Linked DNA regions of Homo sapiens: all the other regions are linked to region 5. Evidence: promoter capture Hi-C in 16 types of primary human blood cells and fetal thymus (Javierre and others, 2016). All regions are on one chromosome and are shown on one strand. Each heading gives the region's core, a stretch centred on a gene start or on the middle of the fragment in contact. The rest is flanking DNA. Distances are from core to core; before and after follow the strand shown. Region 1 has its middle 190 kb from the start of LINC01923. Region 2 has its middle 110 kb from the start of LINC01923. Region 3 overlaps LINC01923 (long intergenic non-protein coding RNA 1923). Region 4 has its middle 93 kb from the start of LINC01923. Region 5 holds the start of PLCL1 (phospholipase C like 1 (inactive)). Region 6 has its middle 150 kb from the start of LINC01923. Region 7 has its middle 170 kb from the start of LINC01923.

Region 1 (3,588 bases), core at 529-3,028, 380 kb after region 5:
GAGGCCTCACCAGAAGCTGAGCCAATTAAATCTCTTTTCTTTATAAATTACCCAGTCTCAGGTATTTCTTTATAGCAGTGTAAGAATGGACCGATACACTTGTTTATATGTCAAACCTTAGCAGCACCCTCTCTCCTGTTGCAGTGGTACAGGTCCTTAGAGTAGTCCTGGTACTCTTTTCATTATGTTACTTCAACACTTGAATTCCTCAGAAGATACTTGTGTGAAAAGAAATTTGTTCATATCTTCTAGATCTTTGTATCACTTGGAATGCTTTTGGTTGTGCTTTGGTTATCTACTGCTGCATAAAAAAAACTGTAAAACTTAGTGTTTTAAAACAATTTGTTATATCACTCATGATTCTATAATTTGATGGGGCTCAGCTGGGTGGTTCTTGCTTGGTATATTTTGTGTGGTTGCAGTGAGATGGCAGCTTGGGCTAGAGTCATCTAAAGACCTGACTGGGCTGGATATCCCAGATGGTCACTCATGTGACTAGCAGTTGATGTGGCTGTTGGTGACAAGGACTCCCTACTTGAACAAACTTCAGTCAGGCTTCTCCAAGCTGTCTTCTTTGCCAGACCTCATCCTCGGCCTCTTGTTCTTGGTCTGTCCAGCCTAGTTTTATCAAGAATCCTGCCAAGTGAATTTAGCAAGAATCTTCTACCTTTACAGTTTGTCAAGTTCACCTTATTAATTTTCCATCCACTGACTTCCTTATCCTGCCCATTAGCTATAAACCCCCAGCTACTACTGTTGTATTCAGAGTTCAGTTCCATCTCTCTTCCCTATTGCAGTAGTTTTGAATAAAGTCTTTCTTGCCTGCTTAACTTATTTGATGCAATTTGTCTTTGAAACTGGCTAGGAAGTCAGCTTGGGCTATCAACTAGAGTACCTATGTGTTTCCTCTCCATGTGGCTTGGGCTTCTCACTGCATCACAGTCTAAGGGTAGTTGAATTTCTTACATTGCCGCTACTGTCTCTCAGAGGGAGCCTTTCAAGAAGACTGTATGGATGCCAGGCATGGTGGCTGACACCTGTCATCTCAACACTTTGGGAGGCTGAGGTAGGAGGATTGCTTGAGCCCAGGAGTTTGAGACCAGCCTGGGCAATATAGTGAGACTGCGTCTCTAAAAAAATAAATAAGTAAATAAAAAGAAGACTATATGGGAACTGCAAAGCTTCATATGACCCGAGCTCATAAGTCTCCCATTGTATTCTATTGATCAAGCAAGCCACTAGGGCCCACCTGGATTCAAGGGGAGAGGAATTGGACAATACTGCTCAATAAGAGAAGTAAATAATTTATAGACATATTTAATCTACCGTAGACTATAAGGAATAAAAGGAAAACACACCAAAAAGTGGCCTAAATAATAAGACTACTTACTATACTGTATACCTAGAAGTTTGAAGGTAGGGCAATTCTAAGTTTGCCTCAAATGTCAACAGAGACACTTTTATTTCTGTTATCCTCTTTTGCTGATTCTGACAGTGGCTGCTTGGTTCCAAGTAATCTTACGAAGACAAGAATATCCAGAGGTAGAAAAGGGGAAATATTCCTGTTTTTGCTTTTTTTGATTTTTAAGAATAATGAAAACCCTTCTAGAATCATCCCAGTTGATTTCCCCTCACTTATAACTGGACAGAATTATATTATACATTCATATTTAAACCAATTACCTGGCAAGAGAATAAAACAACCATGAATGGCTTGAATCAGTCATGATTCAGTCCCTGGGCTGAGGGTAACCTCAATAAGAGAACATAGCTACTCAGAGAAAAATGAACAAAATTAGGGCTTCATCAGGACCAGGTCCCTGAGCAATGTAACAATGCCAAATGTCTCCTGAGGTTAGATACGAAGCCCAGGCTATGAGGTCAAACCTTTGAAAATCCATTAGGAAGGTGTCATGGTAGAGATCAACACACCGTCTCTTACAAGTCTGACAAAGTGTTAGAATGGATTTCTGTTTCTATAATTTAGCACTAGATTAAGTACCTACGTTTAGATGCCTTACTCTACAAAAAATTAAATGTTTGAAGCGATTAGTTCAGCAAGATGTTTATATTGTGAGAGGCATGTGGGTATCAAATGGCTAAGGGAACAATGGATATATATCTCCCATTTGTGCATGGAAAACAATGTAGCAATTTCCCATTTATTCTCTTTCTTTCAAGTCTCCTCTCTTTACTCCTTCTCCCCCACTCCCACCCCCACTCTCTCACTCCCTGTTGTGGAGTAGAAATAGGTGAATGTGTAAAAGCGAAGTGTATATACCATGGAGCTCTACTGTCCACCATGTGGTTGTTAGATCCCTCTAGAGTCTCAGCCATCTTTCCTCTCTGGAAAGCCTGGGCTAACTATGCTCAAGGAAAGCTTTGGAATCCCCTTTATTTCTCTCTCTTGATTCTGGCAAGCAGCCAGCTTTCCTTCTTCTCTGCCCTGCTCCAGTTCCTTTTAACTCTTCAGAATCAAAAATAACCTGCAGACTGAAGGTATCCCCAGCCCCCAAGTGGACCTCCAGCTGACAAAGTGGCCACTAGAGACCCTAAAACAGCTTCCCAGGGCTCTTAAGTCAGCTTTTCCCCTCTACAAGATTTTAGTAAACTTTTTATGGTGCCAGGCTCTCTGCTAGGTGGCAAGGACACTGTGGTAAATAAAACTTAGTCATAAATCACATTCCTTCTAAAAAACAAACGAGAGTTTAACCTAGTGCCACCTGTCTTTGTACCTCATGGAGCACATAGGAAAATTATATTTTGTATTACACACCTGGACTTGTGCCATATCGTAGCCCTTATAGACGGCTCTCTGTAGATTGCTATTCATCCAAGCTTACTAGCAAGATAAGAATTCATGTGTTTAGGAAACATTCAGAGAGACCTTTACGAAAATACTTGTCAAGCATAATTTCAACTGTTGTAAATTTGGAAATGACTCAGTTTTGTCACCACTGAGAAAAAGTACAAACATCAATATCTTGTGGCACACCTGTTATCTATTTGCAGAACCTCTAGTTTAATGAATTCTTTCATTTTTCCCTAAAATCTGACCCATAGCCCTCTAAACATTTTAGGGAAGGAGAAAGAAGGAATTCACCACATCCAGGCTGGGCACTGTCCTGAAGCCCTCGTTGCCCTTCTCTATGGTGGTCTTTGGTGTTTGTCTTCATTATAAGTTGTTGACTTTCATTTCTATTTTTAAATTTTTATTTTTTAGAGACAGGGTCTTGCTTTGTTGTCTAGCCTGGAGTGCAGTGGCGTCATCATGGCTCACTGCAGCCTTGAACCTGTGGACTCAAGTGATCCTCCTGAATAGCTGGGACTACTGGCATATGCCACCATGCCCAGCTAATTTTTTAAATGTTTTGAAGAGATGGGGTTTTGCTATGTTGCCCAGGCTGACCTTGAACTCCTGGCCTGAAGTGATTCTTTCACCTCAGCCTCTGAAAACACTGGGATAACAGACATGAGCCACAGAGCCCAGCCTACTTTCAGTTCTTTTAGTTTTCTAACAGTAGGGACAATAAAGCTAGCTCAGGCACAGCCCAGGCCCTCCTTGTCCCTTACTCTTGTCTGCATAGC
Region 2 (3,640 bases), core at 212-2,711, 460 kb after region 5:
AATCTTGGCTCACTGCAACTTCTGCCTCCTATGTTCAAGCAATTCTCCTGCCTCAGCCTCCCAAGTAGCTAGGATTACAGGATGTACCACCACACCTGGCTAATTTTTGTATTCTTAGTAGAGACGGGGTTTTACCATGTTGGCCAGGATGGACATATTGTATCTTGATATTGGAGATTATGATCCCTGTGGTCTATCACTTAGGATATGGTTCAGCTGTGGCGATTAAGAAATAATACTAGCTTAAATAGTAAGGTTTCTTTCTCTCCCAGAAATAGGGAGTCTGGAGTTAGGGAATTCAGGGCTGTTCTGGCATCTCCCTGGTCTCCTTCTTCCTGCCCCACTGTCTTAGTTGCATCTTAAACATTCGGTTTGTGCCAGCTGCAAGAAAGAAGGGAGATAGGGACCGGGCACAGTAGCTCACTCCTATAATCCCAGCACTTTGGGAGGCTGAGGCTGGCGGATCACTTGAGGTTAGGAGTTTGAGACCGGCCTCGCCAACATGGTAAAACCCTGTCTCTACTAAAAATACAAAAATTAGCCGGGTGTGATGACTCATGCCTGTACTCCCAGCTACTTTGCAGGCTGAGGCAGGAGAATTGTGTGACCCTAGCAGGTGGAGGTTGCAGTGAGCTGAGATGGTGCCACTGCACTCCAGCCTGAGGATAGAGTGAGACTCCATCTCAAAAAAGGAGAAAGGATGAAAGAACAAAATATTCCTTCTCCCAGCTGAGTCAGTTCCCATAAGCAGCCTTCCCAGATGTTCCACATGGGAGTTCAATTTATATATCTGACCACTGAACTGCATGGGTATACCTAGGTGCAAAGAAAGCTGGAACTTCAGCCTTGTAGCTAAGTGCGTTGCTGAACCAAAGAAAACTGGAGTTCTGATGCTAAGAAGGAAGGGGCATGTGGATTGGGGATCTCTGTCAATAAAGAAAACAGACATACAAGAGGAAATTAAAATTACTGTTTAAATAATTTCATTTCTGAAAAATGCTACAAAGTAGAACATTCTATTAGAGAGACCTAATTTCCATTAAATTTATATTTTGTGTTTTGTTTTCTTTTGAGAAGAAGTCTCACTCTGTCATCCAGGCTAGAGTGCAGTGGCGCCATCTTGGCTCACTGCAACCGCTGCCTCCCAAGTTCAAGAGATTCTCCTGCCTCAGTCTCCCCAGTAGCTGGGATTACAGGTGCGTGCCACCACACCCATCTAATTTTGTATTTTTAGTACAGATGGGGTTTCACCATGTTGGCCAGGCTGATCTCGAACTTTTGCCTTCAAGTGACCCACCTGCTTTGTCCTTCCAAAGTGCTGGGATTACAGGCATGAGCCACCGTGCTGGGCCTTGTGTTATTTTAAACAATATGCCAGAATCTGTGATTAAAATGGTTTAAATCTGTTGCATGCACTATTTTAAAGGCTTTTGGGGAAAGCCCACTGGCCCTTGTTAACGTATACCATTTTATCTCTGTGTTACATCCATCTTGATAACTTTATAACTTATTATTTTGCTGCAAGTTCTTGTGTGATTTCCTGAAAAATGTGTAGAACCTCCATTAACTTCATCACTATTCCCTTTTCATCCCATCCCATAATGCCTGTTAGGCCAGAACAATGACATTTGTAAATCAGAGGTTGTTTAATAGTTGAGTAGCACTGTTATACTTTCTTGTCTAATAAATCATAATCGAGGTTGGCAAACTGGTAATTATCTGGTCTGTGGCTTGGTTTATTGTCCATCTATTTCCTTCATAGGCCAGTTGTCTGAAGAAAGTGCACACAGATAAGGAAGTCTGCATAGACTTCCAATCTTTGAAATCTTATGGGTATAGGACTTGTTAACCTTATTTTGCAAAACTTTATTCATGATTGGGATAGCTCATGATTTTAACTGATCCAAGTCAGCTTCTCTAGAGATAAGTTCCTAGAGAATAGAACTATGCAGAGTTCTCCTGGCCCCAGATGCCACATATGACAGTAATGTGTTTTTTTGTTTTGTTTTGTTTTTTGAGGCAGGATCTTACTTTGTCACCCAGGTTGGAGTGCAGTGGCATGATCATGGCTCACTGCAGCCTCAACCGCCCAGGGTCAAGCAATTCTCCCATCTCAGCCTCTTGAGTAGCTGGGACCACAGGCATGTGCCAACCATGCCCAGATAATTTTAAAAAATTATTTGTAGAGAAGGGATCTCACTATGTTTCCCAGGCTGGTTTTGAACTCCTGGGCCCAAGTGATCCTCCTGCCTCAGCATTCCACAGTGCTGGGATTACAGGCCAGCGCCACTGTGTCTGGTACCAATGCATTTTGTAAAGTTTGATTCATTATGTCAAAAGATAAGTTATTCTCCTAAGCCAATCTCTCTTTTTTATTTATATATCACAGCTTTATTTGAAATAACCAACCAAAACTATAAACAGACAGAATGAAACATCGTCTCCACATCATATTGTAGTGAGCTTTTAAAACATGGGCTTTGGAGTCTGAGGATAAAGAGTCCTAAGTCTGCTCCCTTCTGACTTTCTGATACTAGGCAACTATAATTTCTCTGACCCTGTTTGCTCACTGTCACTTCTAACTGGATCCTATTTTGATGACCAGACATTGCCATGTGTCAGTGATTGTATTAAGCACTGGGAAATAACTGTGAACAAGATTAAAGTAGTTTTGGCCTTTATCTAAGTTGAAACTGGGGTTGCAAATTCCATTGCTTTCTTAGGTCAGGCAGGTGACATAAATGCCTGAAGGGAGTGAGGATGGGGGAAATACAAAAATCAGGGAGAGATGGTGATTGTGGCTGAATTTGAGGCTGCTGCTCATCAAAAGGTATTCAGATTCAACAGTTTTGAAACCCTAGATAGTCCTAACACTACCCCTACTATGGGCGCATTGCTTTAGCAGTCTACTTTATGGTCCTATGTTAAGTACAGAAGGAATACAGGCGATTTTCATATACTCCATAGGCACCTTCTCTGCTTGGGTGCTCTAGCCTGGAAATTAAGAGGAAGATTATGAATGCCACTATGTTTGGATCCCAGTTTTGCCATTTGCTCAGCTGTAATCACCCAGTGGGCTTTTCCTGTCTGCTGCACAGCCATCAATTCACTGAGACCAAGGCACTGCAGTAAAGAGAGTTTAATTGACTAGAGATCAGCCACATGGGAAAACTGGAGTTATCACTCAAATCAGTCTCCCCAGAGGCTTGAAGGTTAGAGTTTTTATGGACAGTTTGGTGGGCAGAGGGCTGGGGAACGGGTGCTGCTAATTGGTTAGGGTTAAATCCATAGGGGTGTGGAAAATGGTCTTTGTGTGCTGAATCTGCCTCTGAGTGGGGCCACAGGACTAGACCAGTTGAGTCATGAGTCTCAAAGCTGGGTTGGATCCATCTGAAAAACATCTCAAAAAAAACCACAAAATCTTAGGTTCTATGATAGTAATGCTATCTATAGGAGCAATTGGGAAAGTCTCAAATCTTGTGACTTCTAGCTACATGATTCCTGAGCAGTAAGGGAGTATAGAAACTACACCTATCTCTTAGCAGAATTCAGGTCCCTCCCATAATCCTAGTATTATGGCCTTTCATAAGTCTCACTAAGTTAGTTTTAGCCCCTGAACAGGGAGAAGAGTACTTTTAGG
Region 3 (3,710 bases), core at 607-3,106, 500 kb after region 5:
CATATTTATAAACTAATATAGCAGCAAAATTTGTGCATATAATTCATATATGCATATGTATGTACATTGGTATACATATAGGCATATATACATCCCTTACCTCATGAAATAATGACAAACATAAATCCTGTTTTCATTCTTCTTTTGTATTATAAGTTTCCTTTTTTTTACTATTTCTTTTAGCTTTTCTCCTTTGACTTTGATTTTGAACTCAATCTTTCATAGATCAAATCATTCCAATTACCTAATACTATTTTTATTTTATACCTAACACTAATTTTATTTTTATTTAATTATAATGTAACAATAATAATTATTTAATATTTGAATTATCACAACTTTTCCATGAGAATTCCCTTAAGTCAGATCCTTTGATTTTTTAATCATTGTCACTATATTTTTCACATTATCCTCATTTTCTGGTACCTGCAGGATGTTCCCAACCCATTCTGAGTGTTTTCCTTTCGCTTACCAATTCTGAGTTTCCCCTCCCCACCACCTCCTCAGCCATCAGCCTTGCTGGCACAGGCTCTCCGTGATCACACCTGGGGCCCTAGGCAGTCCCTCTCTGCAGCTGTCTGTTTAGACACCTCCAGGGCAGGATATGGAATGGCTTTGCCTGCAATTCCAGCAGATCCACCAACGTCACTTTCACTGGCACCGTGAAAGCCTGCATCTTTTGCAAGACTTATATCAATTTGCAGCATGTAGCACTATACTGTTCAACATTTCCAACAGCAGACTATCTGGGGAAAAATTAATGAACAAAGCCTTGGCTTTATGTGGGGATGGACCCAGCCAGGAGCACTCCTGGAGTGGGGACTAATTTTTATAAGTTGTCAGATTACTAGTAAACACTTAATGTTATGGTGATTTTTGCTTTCCTAAACAATCTGGCATCTTCAGGAAGTCACACAATGAATGCTGGGTTAACAAAGATCTATTATACTAAATAAATCTAGTGCGCTAAATTTCAAGACTTTTAACCTAACCCAGCACTTAAAATCTAAGATTAATAATCAAGTAGAGTGGGCATTGGGAAGGCGTGAGCCACATTCCTGGGATCTTCTTTCTGAGACTGGGTATTGCCCAGGCTGTGAAAATAGGCAGACTCATGACCTGGGGCTTTCCTGTTCACACCTCAGCTCTTCCTGCTGGTGCTCAGCCTTTACTGGAGAAGGTAACTCGGTCTTTTCATCTTTTGAAGAACATGAGCACCCAGTAAGATGTCAGCAATACACATTATCAGGTTCTTTTTGCCTTCTGGTATCGGACCAGACCTGATGTGAGCTATTATACAGAGACCTTAGTGTAAGGACATCTCCCTTGGTAGTAAGCGCTGGGCTTTGATGATCTGAAGAAAAACTGAGCTGCGTCCCAGTTCTAGAGTTCCTAGAGAGAGCACACTCCCTCTCTGGAGATTCTATTTTTCCTGTAACTCATGGCAAAGTGGTCCCCTGTGGATTTTTTCTTTGCCAAGCTTCTCCCAACTCCACATCCCATTGGTTTTGCCCTAATTGTTATTTATTTAAGATAAAAGAAAATGTAATCCTTATGCACCATATTCCATAAATTTAACTAATAAAAATGTTGTTTTGTAAGAGCCTTTTGAAGTCCAAGTAAACTTTGGAATCATTTTTATGAGACTTTAAAAATCTTTCTTCTTAGGGGCAGGAAGTTATATTTTGCCAAGAATAAATGAACTCAAATAGCAAAGGGATTGGGCTTGACATGAGGTGCCAAACCCACAGTGTTTCAGTGGCTTCTGAGCTGGGCCAAGTGCGTTTTCCCAGTCCTGAGAGTCAGGACTGGTATCTAAAGTTTCAGACTAACATGTTATTACTTATAAATAATTATTTTAGTATGCCAGTTGTTCTTAATGTAAAACGTTTGGCTCCATTTTTGAACCAACTTGATTCTATAGGCAAAGAAGAACCAGATTATTGATTTCTCAAGTCATCCCTTTGTTAGTGTTTGCTGGAGTTACCTGGAAAAAACCTGCATTTAATTCCCTCTTTGCCATTTCCTTGAATGTTCTTACCTTCTTCATTCATAGTAATTTAAGATAATGTAATTTTTTTCCATGCCCACATTCTAAAACATTTTTAGGAGTGTTTCCAAAAAGAGAAGTGATGATAAAACAATATAATTAATGTTGGAAGCCATGAAAAATTCATAGACACTTCAAAGAGAGGATCAAGTTGTGTCATATGAGGGCTTATCATTCCCAAAGAAGCTTTTATGAAAGATGAATATGAAGCTGGGCGTGGTGGCTCACGCTTGTAATCCCAGCACTTTGGGAGGCTGAGGCGAGCGGATCACAAGGTCAGGAGATCGAGACCATCCTGGCTAACATGGTGAAATACTGTCTCTACTAAAAATACAAAAAATTAGCTGGGCATGGTGGCGGGTGCCTGTAGTCCCTGCTACTCAGGAAGCTGAGGTAGGAGAATCCCTTGAGCCAAGATTGTGCCACTGCACTCCAGCCTGGTTGACAGAGCAAGACTCCATCTCAAAAAACAAAACAAACTAAACTAAAAACAAACACACAAAAAAAGATGAGTATGAAAATTAATTAATAGCAAGTTCAGTTGTCATTTTAAGACAAGTTATTGATTTAAAAACAAAAATATTTCACCCGCCACCCTCTTCTCCACTTGCCGGCTCTTCGCCCATCAACAGAAGGTTTTCCAATTGTATCTTCTCGTTCACTGTCTCTTCCTGCTACCTCTGAACTTCTGTCACACATTCTATTTCAGTCTTGCTTATGGCTGCTGTTATCATCACCATTATTTTGTGCTACCACTTCCCAGGTTCTCCGTTACTCCAGATCTTTCTCTCAAAAACTCAGGCCTGATGGCCTCTGTTTTTCTTGAGTTCACTTCCTCTGTCAGTCCAGGATATCCTGTCTTCTTTCTTATCCCCTAATTCCAGCCCTACACACTCCCCAGGCACAGCCTTCCTGTGACCCTTGTCCCAGCCAGGCAGGCACCAGATCATTAACTTTAGATTTTCTGACCACTCCTCAAGGAAAGATGGAAGATCTTTTCCTTGGCTCCAGCTAGGGATGTGAACAGACACCTTCCCCACCCCCTGCAGCCCTCTCACTAATAGGTAGTCAGGATGGCAGCTTGCACCTAGGCATCTGGTGAATTCAATTCACTTCTCTCAAGTAATCACTCTGCAAGGGCCCACTGTGTGCCAGGCACTGGGCCATGTGCTTGGTAGGCAAAGATGAATCAACTAGGGGCTGATTATTATCACAGGATGCAATGCAAAGCAGCCTCCTGGAAGAGGCAGTGGTGAATTCTGCTGTGAGGGGTTGGCTGGGAAGGCTTTCAGACGCAGCAATGCTTGTACTGGATTTGCATGAGAAGGAGAAGAGAAGACAAGAGGAGACCATTCCAAGAAGCGGTAGCCACTTCTGTAAAGGCGTGTAGTAGTACACAATGGGGGTGTGGTTGAGGAAATACAAGTAATTATGTTTTAAAAGAATGACAGTGACAAAGGGGAGGCATAGTGACAGCCACCCAAAGGTTTAAGGGAGTGATGTGATTTGATTCCTCTGGCGAGAAGGTGGTGGTTGCACTGGGGAGAAGGGTGTGGGGAGGACTGGAATAAGGCTGACCAGAGAGGACACTGTCATAGGCAAAGGAGGTCACAGGCTAGAGAGTGACAGTAGAGAGGGGAGGAGGGGCAGATTCAGTGTA
Region 4 (3,316 bases), core at 668-3,167, 480 kb after region 5:
GAGGCAGGAGAATCGCTTGAACCCAGGAGGCAGAGGTTGCAGTGAGCCGAGATCATGCCACTGCACTCCAGCCTGATGACAGAGCGAGACTCCCTCTCAAAAACAAACAAAAAACCCAAATATATATATCTATACACACACACACACACACATACACATATATATACACAAATATATATACATATACAAATATATATATATAACATAAAATGTATAATTTTAACTGTTTAAAGTGCGAGTTCAGTGCATGCATTATTGTGCACCCATCACCACCATCCACTTATCTCCAGAACTTTTTCATCTTCCCAAACTGAAACTCTGTAACCATTAAATAATGAACTCCCTATTTCCTCCCTCTCCCCAGCACCCACTGGCCATAATTCTACTTTCTCTTTCTGAATTTGACTACTCTAGTTACCTCATGTAAGTGGAATCATCCTGTATTTGTTTCTTTTGTGTCTGGCTTATTTCACTTAGTGTGATATTTTTAAAGTTCATCCTTATTGTAGCATGCATCAGAATTTCCTTGCTTTTTAAGCATGAATAATGTCCCATATATGTATATACCACATTTTGTTTATCCATCCATCTATTAATGGACATTTAGATTGTTTTCATCTTTTGGCTATTATAAATAATGATGCTGTGAACATAGGTGTTCAAATACCTGTCTGAATCCCTGCTTTCAATTATTTTCAGTGTATACTCAGAAGTAGAATCACTAAATCATATGGTAATTCTATTTTTAATATCTTGTGGAACTGCTATACTGTTTTTCACAGTAGCTACACTATTTTACATTCCCACTAACAATGCACAAAGATTCCAATTTCTCCACATCTTTGCCAACATGTGTTACTTTGTTTCAGGTTTTTTTTTTTTTTTTAATATAATAACCATGCTAATGGGTGTGTAGGGTGATCTTTTAAAAACAGAAATTAAATAATGTCTCCTGCTTAAAACTCTCCATGGCTTTTAATTACTCCTTACCATAGTCATCAGGCCTGAACATATCTAGCCCCTGCTTATTTTCCTAACCTCATCTGGTGCCTTTCCCTTGCCACTTAATATATACCCCAGCCACACTGGTGTCTGTTGACTTCCCAGGACACCCTAAACTCTTTCCCCTCTCAGGACTTGTACATTGCTCCTCCTCCTGCCAGAGCTGCCCTCACTCCGCATGAAAGGCTGCTGACCATCCTGTGGGTCTCTACCCTACCTGGGCTGCTGACCTCCTGTGGAAGGATGCCCCTCTACTTTTTTGATTCTCTCCCAGCACCTTGCTCATTTCCTTTGTAGCATCTATCACTATCTGTAGTGAGTTTCTTTCTTCACTTGTTCTCCTGCTTGCTTTCAACGGGGGAATGTAAGCTCCACGAGTTGACAGTGGCTGTCATTACTATTGCTGTCTCAGAGCCTCCAAGTGCATAATGAATGCTTATCAGTTTGGAACTGAGTCACAATGAATTCATAGTCAAATTGCATAAAGGTCAAGAAAATTTCTCACATATCTGTAACCTCTGCCTCCTACAAATATATGTTCAATTTTTCTAATTTATAAAAATAAAATCCTTCATAGACTAAATTTTTTGTCTAAAATCTTGTATCTTTTAAAATGTAATATATATGCATTTAAGAGTAAATACATAGTTTAATATTTATGTTGCTAGACTCAAAATTGCTAAAGAAATTGTAGCTAGATTGGCTTCTCTCTAACAACTGGCAATTAAAATTACTTGTATTTTTAAAAAACTGGTATAATAGATAAATTTAAAAGGTAAAAAAACCCAAATATCATATAATTTAAGCAATTTTACCTCATCAAGAAAAATATATGTAAGCTCTAACTTTTATCTGACATCACGCCTGTTTTATTCCAGTGTTCCTGAATAAATCTAAAAAACACCAAATAATTTGCCAAACAAGTTTTAAAAGTAATTTAAAGAGTAGGTGGGAGGAACATTGAGAGGTTTTAATCTTTACTTATTTTAATTCCATGTTACTCATCTTGGGTAGGAGGCTAGAAGTACCAGCTTCAAGTTATAGAGTTCATAAATTAAAAGAGTTAGTGAATTGCCTGGGATTCATTGAACAAGAAATGTTTTCTATATGGGTGATTTTAGAACTATCCCTTTGCACATTTATATGCTGGTATGTAGATGTGTGCCCACTTTATTCATCCTGCTTGGTGTTTTATGAGAAACTTCTCCCTTCTCACCTCCACTGTACCTATTCTCTTCTTCTATGACTTCTTTTGACAGACGGTCTAGCATCTGTTGTTTTACTTTTTTTCTCACATTTTCTTTTTGTTTTTTTAGTCATATATGTTTTTTGTAAAAGATGCCTTTTACTGTTTCTAACTCAGTGTTTCTCAAACTGTATTGTGCATTTGAATCATCTTGGAGACATGTTACAAAATAAATTGCTGGGCTCTGACTCAGCAGTTCTAGAGTGGGGTCCAAGAAATTGCATTTGTGACAAATTATCTGGTGATTCTGAGGCTAATGGGATGGGGCCGACAATTTGAGAGACATGCCTCTATATCCTTGCTACTCAAAGCATGTCTGAGGATCAGTATCACATGTCTAACAAGCTCCCAGGTGATGTGGAAGCTACTACATACTTTGAGTGGCAAGAATCTAAAACAGTGGTTCTCAAATTCTGAATCTTTGATGAACAGCATCAGAATCACCTGAGAGCATGTTAGAAATGCATTTTCTCAGGCCCCATTTGAGATGTATGAAATCAGAATTTGCATTTTAACAAGACCCCCGGGACTAGTACACACCCTGAAGCTGAGAAGCCTCATTCTAGATCACCTGGTCTTTACTGTGCCGATTTTATTGTACAGTCCGGCCATTCTATTTTTATTTCAGGTAAGATTTTAAATTTTATGTACTCTTTAAAAATGTTTGATTACTCATTTTCATCACAGTCTAATCTGCTTATGGATGCAATATCTTCTCAAAACATCCTGAGGCTACTCCTTATACATTTGGGCTTTTTTCCATTTTCCTCGTTATTTCTGTTCCTTCCAGTTTTCCTTATGCTGCTTATTAATCTTCTTCCTTGTATTTGTCGCTGTCCTGTGGTAAAAAGTGATCCCAGAAACCACCATGGCTCATAAGAACAAAGGTGTATTTCTTGTTTATTGTTTAGGTTGGCTGAAAGTCAGTACCAGTTCCACTCCTGCTCCCTGTATCTTTTCATCCCAAGAGGCTAAATAAGGGGGCTTAAAATGGGCTATGCCTTTCTTGAGGAAGAAGGAAAAGAGCAGGAGGACTGATAGAAACACACAAAGGCTCTTAAAAGTTTT
Region 5 (3,778 bases), core at 131-2,630:
CAGTACATTCATTACTAGGCTGCATTTATGTTTAAAGAAAAGGCAAAGTCAAGCCTTCTCAGTATTCCCTAGTAGTTGATAAATGTCAAATCTGAAACCTCCCAAGTGCCCCTGCCAGTTCTGGCTGGTTGTAGCCCAGAGGAGACAGATAAAGTAGTGAAGAGATTATCGGAGGAGTTGGGTGGCTGATTCTAATTTTGGCTCCTGCACTAACTAGTAGACAAGACTCCCTGGGCCTTTGTCTCAACCGTAAAACAAAAATGATGTCCTAGTTGATCCCTAAATCCCCATATATCTCTAAAATTATGAGATTCAAACCAAATTGTTGGTCTAAAATGCTGAATAATTTCTCATGCTGTTAGCCAGACTAAGGAACAAGTAAAATCTCAAATTATTAAATTATTAATAAGATAAAATGTAATGTTATAAGTGAGGTTTAATATAGATTCTAATATCAAAGGAGTTTAAAATTAAAATGCCAAGTCTTTTGTCTTACCAGGGAGCCTTAGGACCATGGTTTGCATCTGAGCATTCTGTGGATAATTTCAGTGACTTAACTCATCATCCAAAGATCTCTCCCTTCTTGGTTGCTAGCTTACTGGAAATGAGCAAAATATGTTTTTATATAGGATTATATAGAGAAAGGAGGCTGAACCATTGTCAAATAGGAATGTTTTAGGATAGAGACTAAACTCCCCACCTGCATTTATCTGACTTGGATTATATCTGTGCTTTTTAAGAGTCAGTCTTCGGAGGGATTTAGTTGGTTCAGTTTCCTTTCACCCTCATCTCTTTCACTGACTCCCTTTCCTTGTTATATTTACTCACACTGCAGAATGACCTTAGAATCCTTTCCTGGAACCTGAAGCAAATTATGGAACCCCAAGATCCCAGTAAACCCTAGTTTATCTCTGCATGGACTTGACTTCTAAGAATTGGCCTGAGAGCCTGCAATTAACCTGTGACCACGCAAAGCTTCACCCCGTCACCCCAAACGCTTAGACATTCATACTCAATACCCACTTTCCTCCAAATTGCTTTGTTTGGCAGAAGAAGGTTTCTTTCTCCCCTCTCCTTCACCCAACCTGGATTTTTGTTGCATCTCAGGCTCATTTCGCAAATCTAAACTTCCTAAAATATACACGGAGCGCCTCCGGGTTTGCACACGCGCGCGCGCGGGTACACCCTGGCTCGAGTACATTAGCCCCGCTGGGCCGGCTCCCAGTTGCAGAACACATTCCATTCTTCGCGCTCGGGCACACCCCTCCGCAGTGAGGATTGGTCGGGCCGAGCCCCCTCGGCGAGGCGAGGCTCCTAAGAGGCCCAGACGCCTGCCAATCCCCAAGGGCTGTCAAAACAAGTCTCCCTCCCTGTCACAACAGAGCTGAGTGGAGGCCGCCGCCGCCGCCGCACTTCCTGGGACCGCTGCGCCGCAGTCCGCGGGCAGGTGGCGGGTGCGCCCGGCCGCAGTCGCCCGGCTCTGGCCCCTATCGGGCCGCCGGCGTCCGGGCTCCAGAGGCCGCCTGGCTGGGCGCCCGGTGCCTTTTGTCTGGCGCAGGGCCGGCGTTTGCATCACATTTCGGATACCTCCCTCTCTTTTTCGCCTCTCCTTCTGCCTCCCGCTCACATCGCCTCCCCACTCCCGCCACCGTCCCCCGCCGGACTGCTAGCCTCCTAGACCGAAGCCCGAGGACGTCTCTGCCCGAGCGATGTCCCCTCTCCAGAAAGTTGCCGCCGCCGCCGCCGCCGCCGCCACTGCCGCCGCTGGGCGGTGAAACAAAGTCTGGCGGGGCCGCCTCCCGGTGCAGGAGCGCACCGGTGCCTAGCGGCTGGACTCCGCTGCCGGGCGTCCCGCTTTCCCCCGGGGAGCCCTAAACGCTCCAGGCCATGGCCGAGGGCGCGGCCGGCAGGGAGGATCCGGCGCCGCCCGACGCGGCGGGGGGCGAAGACGACCCCCGAGTGGGCCCGGATGCCGCCGGGGACTGCGTGACGGCGGCCTCTGGGGGCCGGATGAGGGACCGTCGCAGCGGGGTCGCACTGCCAGGCGCCGCGGGGACCCCAGCGGACAGCGAGGCGGGCCTCCTGGAGGCAGCACGGGCGACCCCCCGGCGCAGCAGCATCATCAAGGTAAGCAAAGCCGCGCCGCACCGGGAGCGTGGCTGTGGGTGATGGGTGGGTCAGGGACCCGGGCAGGATGTGCGGTGTCCGGAGGCATCCGGGCTCAGCATTGTTTTCTCCCACCTCCTTCAACGCCAAACCTTCCTTCCTTATCCGGAGGTTCCCAGACTCAGCTGTCAGCCACGAGACGCACAAGTGACTTTTTCTCCCCACTGACGGCAGAGGAAAAGTTCCGCTCTGCGTCTTTGCGTTCTGATGGATGCTTTCCCTCATTTTCTCTGCAAGCTTCACTAAACCGTTGATGGAGGGAGGAAGGGAGAACTCTGGATAAATGCAGACCCACCGGATGGTTGTGCATTGCTTTCCAATGAAGGGTTAGCTTTTCCCATACAATGAAGAAAATGCACAGCTTACTCTCAAGTGTAAAAAAAGAATCCCTCTAGACTTAAATGATCCCGAAATCCCAAGATGTGTGAACTTTCCCGGTAGGGAGGCAGAGTTTTAAGTGGACCCTGCATCACAGTAAAGAGCAATGCAAGAGCCCAGAGTTTTTGCGCTGCAGAAAGCACAACCGGAAAGCAATCAATCCCCCAAGCATTATCACTGGTCCTTGTGGTTACCACCACATCCAGGGAAAACGCTTCCTGACCCGCTAATCACCTCACAGAATTTCTCTCCATCCATTTGGCAAGGAATTTGTAAACCTCTTTCCTCCCCTTTCTCTTTCCATCTTCCTTCCACTTGGGGCTTGTTTCTTCTGTTCGAGATTTCCTCTTTTGGGAGCATGACTTTGGGGTAAGGTTATTTAGGAAAGAACCCTCGCACAGGCTCTGGAAAAGGGCCTCAGTGTAAATGCATGTGAGTAATCAATCAAATGTATGTCAGATTAAAATTGATTTTGGTGGAGCAGTCAGTATAAAACGATATGTATGTATGTATATATGTAAGTATATATGTGTGTGTGTACATACACACACACACATCCCTCAATGACAATGAAAGATGGACTTTTACTTACTATTGAATTTATTGGGTTCACTAATATATTCAAAAGCTCTGTTCAGGGTTAAGCTGCGTAACCAGTGCATCACGCATGTTGCAAGCTCCCAGCACCAGCTTAGGTAGACTAACCACAGAATGTGGCTCCAGTAAAGTCTTTTTCCCAACACTGACACATGGAAGTTTAAAATCAGTGGAGAGGTTTCTATAATATATAAAGAAGAGTGGGTGGTAATTACAAATGGCTTGTAGTAGTTTCTGTTATTTTGTGGCTTTTTGATTATGTAACAGGAGTGTTCTATTCTGGGTGTGAATTTGGACAAAGGGAAATTACTATTTTGTTTTTAACCCACAGGTCAGAAAGCACACTGTTTTCAAACTTAAAAAACATCACAATTAGGAAACACATACATTTTGGATTCTACTGTATTGATACTACATGGTGTCCTGTGTGTGTAAAACAGGCACTGCAAGAGACTTTAAAATATATGACAATAAAGAGCAAACGGCTCTATAATGTTGTAAAAAACAAAAGTAATGGAGTATAAGGAATATACAAATTCTTGCAACTGAGTTTGCCACTTGTGAATTGTACTATGCTGGTTTATATTCTCAGAAGGGTCATTGCTGAGTAATGGTGCCTCTTTTGTTTTGAAGTTTC
Region 6 (3,424 bases), core at 463-2,962, 420 kb after region 5:
ACACCCAGCTAATTTTTTGTATTTTTAGTAGAGATGGGGTTTTGCCATGTTGGTCAGGCCAGTCTCAGACTCCTGACTTCAGGTGATCCACCCCCCTTGGCCTCTCAAAGTGCTGGGATTACAGGCATGAGCCACCACACACAGCCCTTACCTACTTTTTAACTTATCTACTTCCTTAAGGTGGACAACCAGATTGCTTGTTTTCTACTACCACAAAGCTCCAATGAAGATTCTTCTAGACTGTGTGATGTTCTGTGGGATGGATACCCAGAGGGAGGGATAGTAGGGTCATAGGGTATGTGCACACTTTTTTTTTTTGACTACGTACTGCCAGAATGTTACTCTCCAGAATATCTCTATTAGTCTAACTCCCAAAAGTTTAATGTAAAAATAATTTTATATTTATACATACTATCATAAACTGAATAGTTTCTACTGTCAAGCAAGAGTCAATTTATATTTAAAAGCCAACAGCAGGGTTTAAAAAAATTTCTTAAACATTATATCTAAAACAGTATAAGAATAGAAGATAAATCAGTAGACAGAATACTTTATTAAAATTATTTTCATTTATAAAAATGGGTGGGTAGGCTGGGTGCGGTGGCTCAGGCCTGTAATCTCAGCACTTTGGGAGTCTGAGGCAGGAGGATCCCTTAAGCCCAGAAGTTTGAAACCAGCCTGGGCAATGTAGTAAGACCCTGTTTCTAAAACCAAACCAAACCAAATAAAAAAAATTAGCTAGACATGGTGGTGCATACCTGTAATCCCAGCTGCTTGGGAAGCTGAGGCAGGAGAATCGATTGAACCAGGGAGGTGGAGGTTGCAGTGATGCAGTGAGCCAAGATTGTGCCATTGCATTCCAGCCAGGACAATAGGGTTAGACTCCATCTCAAAAAAAAAAAAAACAAAAAAAAAAACAGAAAATTTTAAAAATAAAAAAAATAAAAATGAGCAGTAGCAGGGGCAGTAGAGAGAACACTGCAACCTCTTGCGTCAGAGAAAACAGTTCAAATCCTGCATGTGTGAGGCCAGGCAAGCTCCTTAACCTCTCTTTGAGTCTAATTTCTTTGAGCATCAGTAAGATGGTGGTAATGATAATAATGATATTAATGTTTTTGAAAAATAGAAGTTAATGGATATGAAGCAATCAGGGCAATGCCTGGCACATAGCCCTTCTGTAGGAAATGTCGTTATTATTCTGATGAGCACCTGTGGATTTGTCCCTGTGATTGCTCATCCACACCTCCCATCTGAATGAATTTTTGTAGCACACAGAGACCTAGACTGTCTATTCAAGTTTCCTCTGTCTGCCCCCATCCCCCAGGGGCTGGAAGAGATATAAAGATAGGACAAAAGTCTCCTTGTTGTTCTTGTTGCTGTCTTGTAGAACTCAGAATGTAAAGAAGACAGGAGAACACACACATACACACACACACACACACACACTTTTTTTGTAACTTCAGGGATGACCACAGAGAATCACCTAGAGAGGGACGGCAGAGTGCAGAAGCAGCACTAGATGGTGCAGACCTCCTATCTGGATGTGGAGAGTGCAGACCTGAAGCGTCCCCAGCCCGTCCTGAACTCTGACTCCTGCATAGGTGCAAGGTGGCCTCCCTCGGCTGTCTTTGACTGCTCTCTGTCTCTGAGCCCTTCGTCTGACTTCCCATAACAACCTGCATTTCCTTTTAATAAGGCTTACCACACTGTGCCATAATCTTCACTTTCATCTTATGAATGATTAAACAGATGTGTTCAGTTATTTGGCTACACTCAGGCTTGTTCTTGCTTTCTGGAAGGTTCTGAGAATTTCAGGTGGCATGTTTGCATAATTTATCAGTTTGGGTGAGTCAGGAGGGAGAAACCAGACAAGTTATTTGGACAGTGTGAATTTCATATAGAGAATCATATGGAAAGATAACTGGAAAGGAAAAAAGAGAACACCGTTCCATCTCAGAGGCTACTGCCCTCCACTAAGGCTGGGGGCAAAAGGTACAGGTTGAAATTTCTGAAAGGCAGAAGTTTGGAGGAGAGACCTGTACAGGTAAAAGTCAGGCAGATGGAAAGACCCTGGTCCGCTGATGGGGGTACACTAAGGCTGGCTCTGCAAGTGTTAGAAAAACTGCAAACTGCATTGAGCTGCTGCTACTGCACGGAAGGGAACTGCCCTGCTTGGTGCAGTATACTGCACGGGTGACACAGGAACTGCAAGAGTACAAAAAGCAATAGGGTCAAGGAGACAGTGCTTTCCTTCTCCCCCAGTAGCACTCTTCCTGCGCCCCCTTACTGACAAAACCTAACAGGGAGTCAGCCTGCAAAGCAGAAATGGGATTCACAGAGTCTCAGGTCCAATAGCCTGAAATAGTTTATAGAAGGGTTGGTTTGAAGCTGAGAAATAATAGCATCATAACTGACACACTTCCTAAAATACTTTATGCTGAATTTTAGAAAATTAGAGGGCATATTCAAATATCCATCAATGGATGAATGGATAAAAAAATGTGGTACATATATACAGTGGATTATTATTCAGCCTTAAGAAGAAAATCCCACCACGTGCTCTAACAGGGATTAAAACTGAGGACGTTATGCTAAGTGAAATCAGCCAGCTACGAAAAGACAAATACTATATGATACTACTTATATGAGGCATCTAACATAGTCAAACACAGAGAGCCAAAAAATAGAATGGTGGTTGCCAGGGGCTGGGGGGAGAGGAAAATAGGGAGTTGGCTTAATAAGTACGGTGATTCAGTTTTGCAAGATAAAAAAGTTCTGGAGATCTGTCATACAATAATGTCAATGTTTTTAACACTCCTAAACATCACACTTAAAAACAGTTAAGATGGTCCATTATATGTTGTGTGTATATGTTTTTTTTACCATAATTAAAAATTTAAAAAAAGTGGACCTATAGGCGCTAGCTATCATATTTCTAAGGCATTTTAAATTTCTTCACTAACTTCTCAGCCTGCTTTCCATAGGTCTCTGTACACTGCTTTGTGGAGAATCCTTGATCCTTATCCCACCTTTAACTTGATTATCCCATGCTTATGCTATGGAATAATCTTTGATCTCTGCTTCATTGTTACTTTATGGCAAGTATTTACTTAATGCTTAATATTCAGAATCAAAATGATAAATACAAGCGACTACTTATGAGATATGTTTGCAAAATAAGATACAGTCATCTTGCAAAGAGGCCCCGCTGTATGGCCACTGTTAAGATTCTATATCAAGGCCGGTTATGATGGCTCACGCCCATAATCCCAACACTTTAGGAGGCCAAAGCAAGAGGATCCCTTGAGCCCAGGAGTTTGAGACCAGCCTGGGCAATATAATGAGACTCCTGTTTCTACAAAACATAAAAAAATTAGCCAAGTGTGGTGGTGTGCAACTATAATCCCAGCTACTCCAGAGGCTG
Region 7 (3,651 bases), core at 602-3,101, 400 kb after region 5:
TAGCTCCTCTCCTTAGGAACTCCTTATATGAGAATTTTTTATTTTACATGTCTTATTGATTTGGGAATTTTTCTGTTATTTGCATCCAAAACACTAACAATATAACATATTTTCATATCAATTCAGAGATTTAACTATTTGCTTTAATTGCTGTGTGGTGTTTCACTGTGTGAATGGCTCATTACCTATTCATCCACCCAATCTTTCACCCATTCAGCATATGCTGTGGGCCAATCACTGGGGATAAAGCAGTGAACAAAACTGACTTTGTATCAACCCTCTTGGAGCTTTTTATTATTTATGTACTATATGCTAACCATGGGGAAAATGACATGTAGGACATAAAATGAACTAAAATATTTGTAATCCTTCTGTATTCCAATTTAACCCGCCCTCTCTGTTTTTAGGTCTTCTAGTAGTTATCATAATTTTCACATGTTTATACCTCTATGTCTTGAGCAAACGGTTGTTTGAGGTCTGAATAATCAAGGCAGGTTTTCTTGGACAGTACATACACAAGTGAGAAGCAGGTGGGCAGGCTGGGACCACCACAAGCATCAAGGTACAGAGGACATTGGCAGTGTTTCATTACTGGGTAGAGCTACGTTTGCCTCTTTCTGCACCCCCTACCCCATGTCTACTAGAGTGGTCCTAGTAGACATGAGGGAGAATGAGAAGGACAGCACAGTTACCTCCAGCTCTGCATTTTTTCTCTTTCTCTTTTAAGCACTCATAACTGTCAATAGAATGACCATAAGCAGGCAAGTGAATATGAAAAGAATATATAATTTTATTGTTCAATAAACAGATAGTGGTGAAATAAAGTTTTGCAATAAAGAAGCCCAGAATTCTACCCAAATGGAACAGCAAACACTGGTAAAGGTAAAACTTGACAGATACCTTGCATATTGACTTGGTTGGCAAAATACATTTTAACTAAAAGGTGTGGACTTAGGTTTGCTCATTGACATCACAGATTGTGAATAACTATGAGAAAAGGGCTCATAGTATTCACCTGTGGCTTAAGTAGACTCATCCTGTAATTTACCTCAGATCCCATGTCCTGGCCTAGAACTTTTGACAGATAAGGCACCTATCACCATCCCAGGCCTTCCACCCAACCACCTCAGTTTTGTTGAGACGGTAAATCCTCTCCATTTTTAACAACAAAAATATTTAAGCACTAGTGGAGATGAGTCTTTTCTCCATTGCTTGTTTTTTTCAGCTTTGTTGAACATCAGGTATTTGTAGGTGTGTGGCCTTATTTCTGGGCTCTCTATTCTGTCCCATTGGTCTATGAGCCTGTTTTTTTGTACCAGCACCATGTTGTTTTGGTTACTATAGCCCTGTAGTATAGTCTGAAGTCAGGTAATGTGATGCCTTCAACTTTTTTCTTTTTGCTTAGGATTGCCTTGGCTATTTGGGCTCTTTTTTGTTTCCATATGAATTTTAAAATAGTTTTTTCTACTTCTGTGAAGAATATCATTGGTAATTTGATAAGAATAACATTGAGTCTGTAAATTGCTTTGGGCAGTATGGTCATTTTAATGATACTGATCTTTCCTATCCATGAGCATGGAATGATTTTCTATTTGTTTGTGTCTTCTCTGATTTCTTTGAACAGTGTTTTGTAATTCTCATTGTAGAGATCTTTCAGTTCCCTGATTAGCTGTATTCCTATGTATTTTATTCTTTATGTCGTAATTGCGAACGGGATTGCCTTTCTGATTTGGCTCTCAGCTTGGCTGTTGTTGGTGTATAGGAATGGTAGTAATTTTTGTTGTTGATTTTGTCCTGAAACTTTCATAAAGTTCTTTATCAGCTGAAGGAGATTTAGGGCCGAGAATATGGGGTTTTGTAGATATAGAATCATGTCGTCTGCAAACAGAGATAGTTTGACTTCCTCTCTTCCCATTTGAATGTACTTTCTTTCTTTCTCTTGCCTGATTGCTCTGGCTAGGATTTCCAATACTATGTTGAATAAAACTGGTAAGACAGGGCATCCTTGTCTTGTGCTGGTTTTCAAGGGGAATGCGTCCAGCTTTTTCCCATTCAGTGTAATGTTGGCTGTGGGTTTGTCATAGATGGCTCTTGTTATTTTGAGGTATATTCCATTAATACAAATTTATTGAGAGCTTTTAATATGAAGCATGTTGAATTTTATCGAAAGCATCTTCTGCATCTATTGAGATAATCATGTGATTTTTGTCTTTAGTTGTGTTTATGCAATGAATCACATTTATTAATTTGTGTATGTTGAACCAAACTTGCTTGCATCCTGGGGATGAAGCCTACTTGATCGTGGTGGATAAACTTTTTGATGCGTTGCTGGATTTGGTTTGCAAGTATTTTGTTGAGGATTTTTGCATCAGTGTTCATCAAGGATATTGGCCTGAAGTTTTCTTTTTTTGTTGTGTTTCTGCCAGGTTTTGGTATCAGGAGGATGCTGACCTCACGGAATGAACTGGGTTGGGGGAAGTCCCTCCTCCTCAATTTTTCGGAGTAGCTTCTGTAGGAATGGTACCAGTTCTTCTTTGTACATCTGGTAGAATTCAGCTGTGAATCCATCAAGTCCTAGGCTTTTTGTTGTTGTTGTTAGGTTATTTATTACTGATTCAGTTTCCTCATTCAACTTGTTATTGGTCTGTTCAGGAAATCAATTTCTTCCTGGTTTAGTCTTGGTAGGTATCTTTTTTATAAATTGCCTTGTCAGTTAATTTATTATTGATCAAATGTGAAACTTTAATATGTTAAAAGGAAAACTTTTGACAAATTTAACATTTTAGCAAAAAATGATTCATAAATTGGGCACCACTTAGAATCAGAAGAGGTTCAGAGAGCTCTGCTCTGCAAAGTGCACAATGAGTGTTTACAGATGGTACATGGAAGTAAAGTATAGAAATATAGTACAGAAATAGCTTGATTGCTTAAGCTAGGTGTTTGCCTTTTTGGATATGGTCTGATCACCTGGCTGCCTGTGATTGGCTGAGGCTCAGCTGCTCACTGGCTGGACTCTGTTGTTTGTTATACTCCTCAGTTAGGTTTTCAGTTTGTTTACATCCTATGTTAGCTGTGTTTTGTTACATAGGAACTCAAAGTATGGAGAACACTTTGGGCCAATGGCCTCCTGCTTATTTAATTTAACAATATAACAATTATTAGATTCATAACAATTTAAAGAAATTGTAAGTTGAACCTAAAGGCTTAAAAATAATAATGCTACCCACCCAAGCATTAAACAAACAAACAAACAAACAAACAACTCTCAAATTAATAGAACCTTCCTCAGGCAGGTCACTTACTTTCTTTGGAAAGCAGTTCTCCTCCAAGTTATCATCTAAGACAACTTAGCCAACAGGCAAAATTTAGCCTCCATTACTGAGGCCTTGCTTGAGGATCCAGGGGCAGTAGGGAGTGGAATCACCCTCGCAAGTTGTTCAACCTTTACTCACATAGAGGGCAGAGTAAGTTGTATCCTTTTTCAGCATCCAGTTCCTGGATTGGTACCTGCCCAGCAGGAATGATGCTGCCAAAGAATTTGCATGGCTCCTTCTTTTTATTTCCCATTTATAGCGTTCCATGTGGATCTAGAGGGCTTTGATTTATGGAAGGACACATGACTTAAATTGATTCAGTCAGAACTAATCTGGA

The links. Contacts are between HindIII fragments. The CHiCAGO score rates a contact against its expected background, and 5 or more counts as called.
Region 1: a contact is called between a fragment that was not itself captured here and the fragment with the promoter of PLCL1 in region 5, in 5 of 17 cell types (M0 macrophages, M1 macrophages, activated CD4 T cells and 2 more). The highest score is 9.7, in M0 macrophages.
Region 2: a contact is called between a fragment that was not itself captured here and the fragment with the promoter of PLCL1 in region 5, in 5 of 17 cell types (M1 macrophages, M0 macrophages, activated CD4 T cells and 2 more). The highest score is 12.4, in M1 macrophages.
Region 3: a contact is called between a fragment that was not itself captured here and the fragment with the promoter of PLCL1 in region 5, in 17 of 17 cell types (M0 macrophages, naive CD4 T cells, M1 macrophages and 14 more). The highest score is 52.3, in M0 macrophages.
Region 4: a fragment that was not itself captured here is called in contact with the fragment with the promoter of PLCL1 in region 5 in 14 of 17 cell types (M0 macrophages, M1 macrophages, M2 macrophages and 11 more); the score reaches 26.5 in M0 macrophages.
Region 6: a fragment that was not itself captured here is called in contact with the fragment with the promoter of PLCL1 in region 5 in 1 of 17 cell types (M0 macrophages); the score reaches 5.6 in M0 macrophages.
Region 7: a contact is called between a fragment that was not itself captured here and the fragment with the promoter of PLCL1 in region 5, in 2 of 17 cell types (M0 macrophages and M2 macrophages). The highest score is 8.8, in M0 macrophages.

Annotation. Positions count from the first base shown.
Region 1 is chr2:198,184,037-198,187,624 of GRCh38, forward strand. No RefSeq gene overlaps it. Among named protein-coding and RNA genes, the nearest start is that of LINC01923, 190 kb to the right of the region's middle. The HindIII fragment of the contact is 1,199 bases long and covers 1,180-2,378 here.
Region 2 is chr2:198,263,940-198,267,579 of GRCh38, forward strand. No RefSeq gene overlaps it. Among named protein-coding and RNA genes, the nearest start is that of LINC01923, 110 kb to the right of the region's middle. The HindIII fragment of the contact is 5,198 bases long and covers 1-3,640 here.
Region 3 is chr2:198,303,924-198,307,633 of GRCh38, forward strand. The region is part of intron 2 of LINC01923 (long intergenic non-protein coding RNA 1923); the gene reads right to left. Among named protein-coding and RNA genes, the nearest start is that of LINC01923, 69 kb to the right of the region's middle. The HindIII fragment of the contact is 756 bases long and covers 1,479-2,234 here.
Region 4 is chr2:198,280,889-198,284,204 of GRCh38, forward strand. No RefSeq gene overlaps it. Among named protein-coding and RNA genes, the nearest start is that of LINC01923, 93 kb to the right of the region's middle. The HindIII fragment of the contact is 6,399 bases long and covers 1-3,316 here.
Region 5 is chr2:197,803,213-197,806,990 of GRCh38, forward strand. It overlaps PLCL1 (phospholipase C like 1 (inactive)), which reads left to right and starts at 1,381. Exons shown (of 6, transcript NM_006226.4): 1 at 1,381-2,127. The coding sequence starts at 1,888. It overlaps LOC105373828 (a long non-coding RNA gene), which reads right to left and starts at 1,334. Exons shown (of 4, transcript XR_001739850.3): 1 at 497-1,334. RefSeq lists a silencer at 1,428-1,557. The HindIII fragment of the contact is 1,428 bases long and covers 974-2,401 here.
Region 6 is chr2:198,223,535-198,226,958 of GRCh38, forward strand. No RefSeq gene overlaps it. Among named protein-coding and RNA genes, the nearest start is that of LINC01923, 150 kb to the right of the region's middle. The HindIII fragment of the contact is 4,801 bases long and covers 1-3,424 here.
Region 7 is chr2:198,205,593-198,209,243 of GRCh38, forward strand. No RefSeq gene overlaps it. Among named protein-coding and RNA genes, the nearest start is that of LINC01923, 170 kb to the right of the region's middle. The HindIII fragment of the contact is 7,841 bases long and covers 1-3,651 here.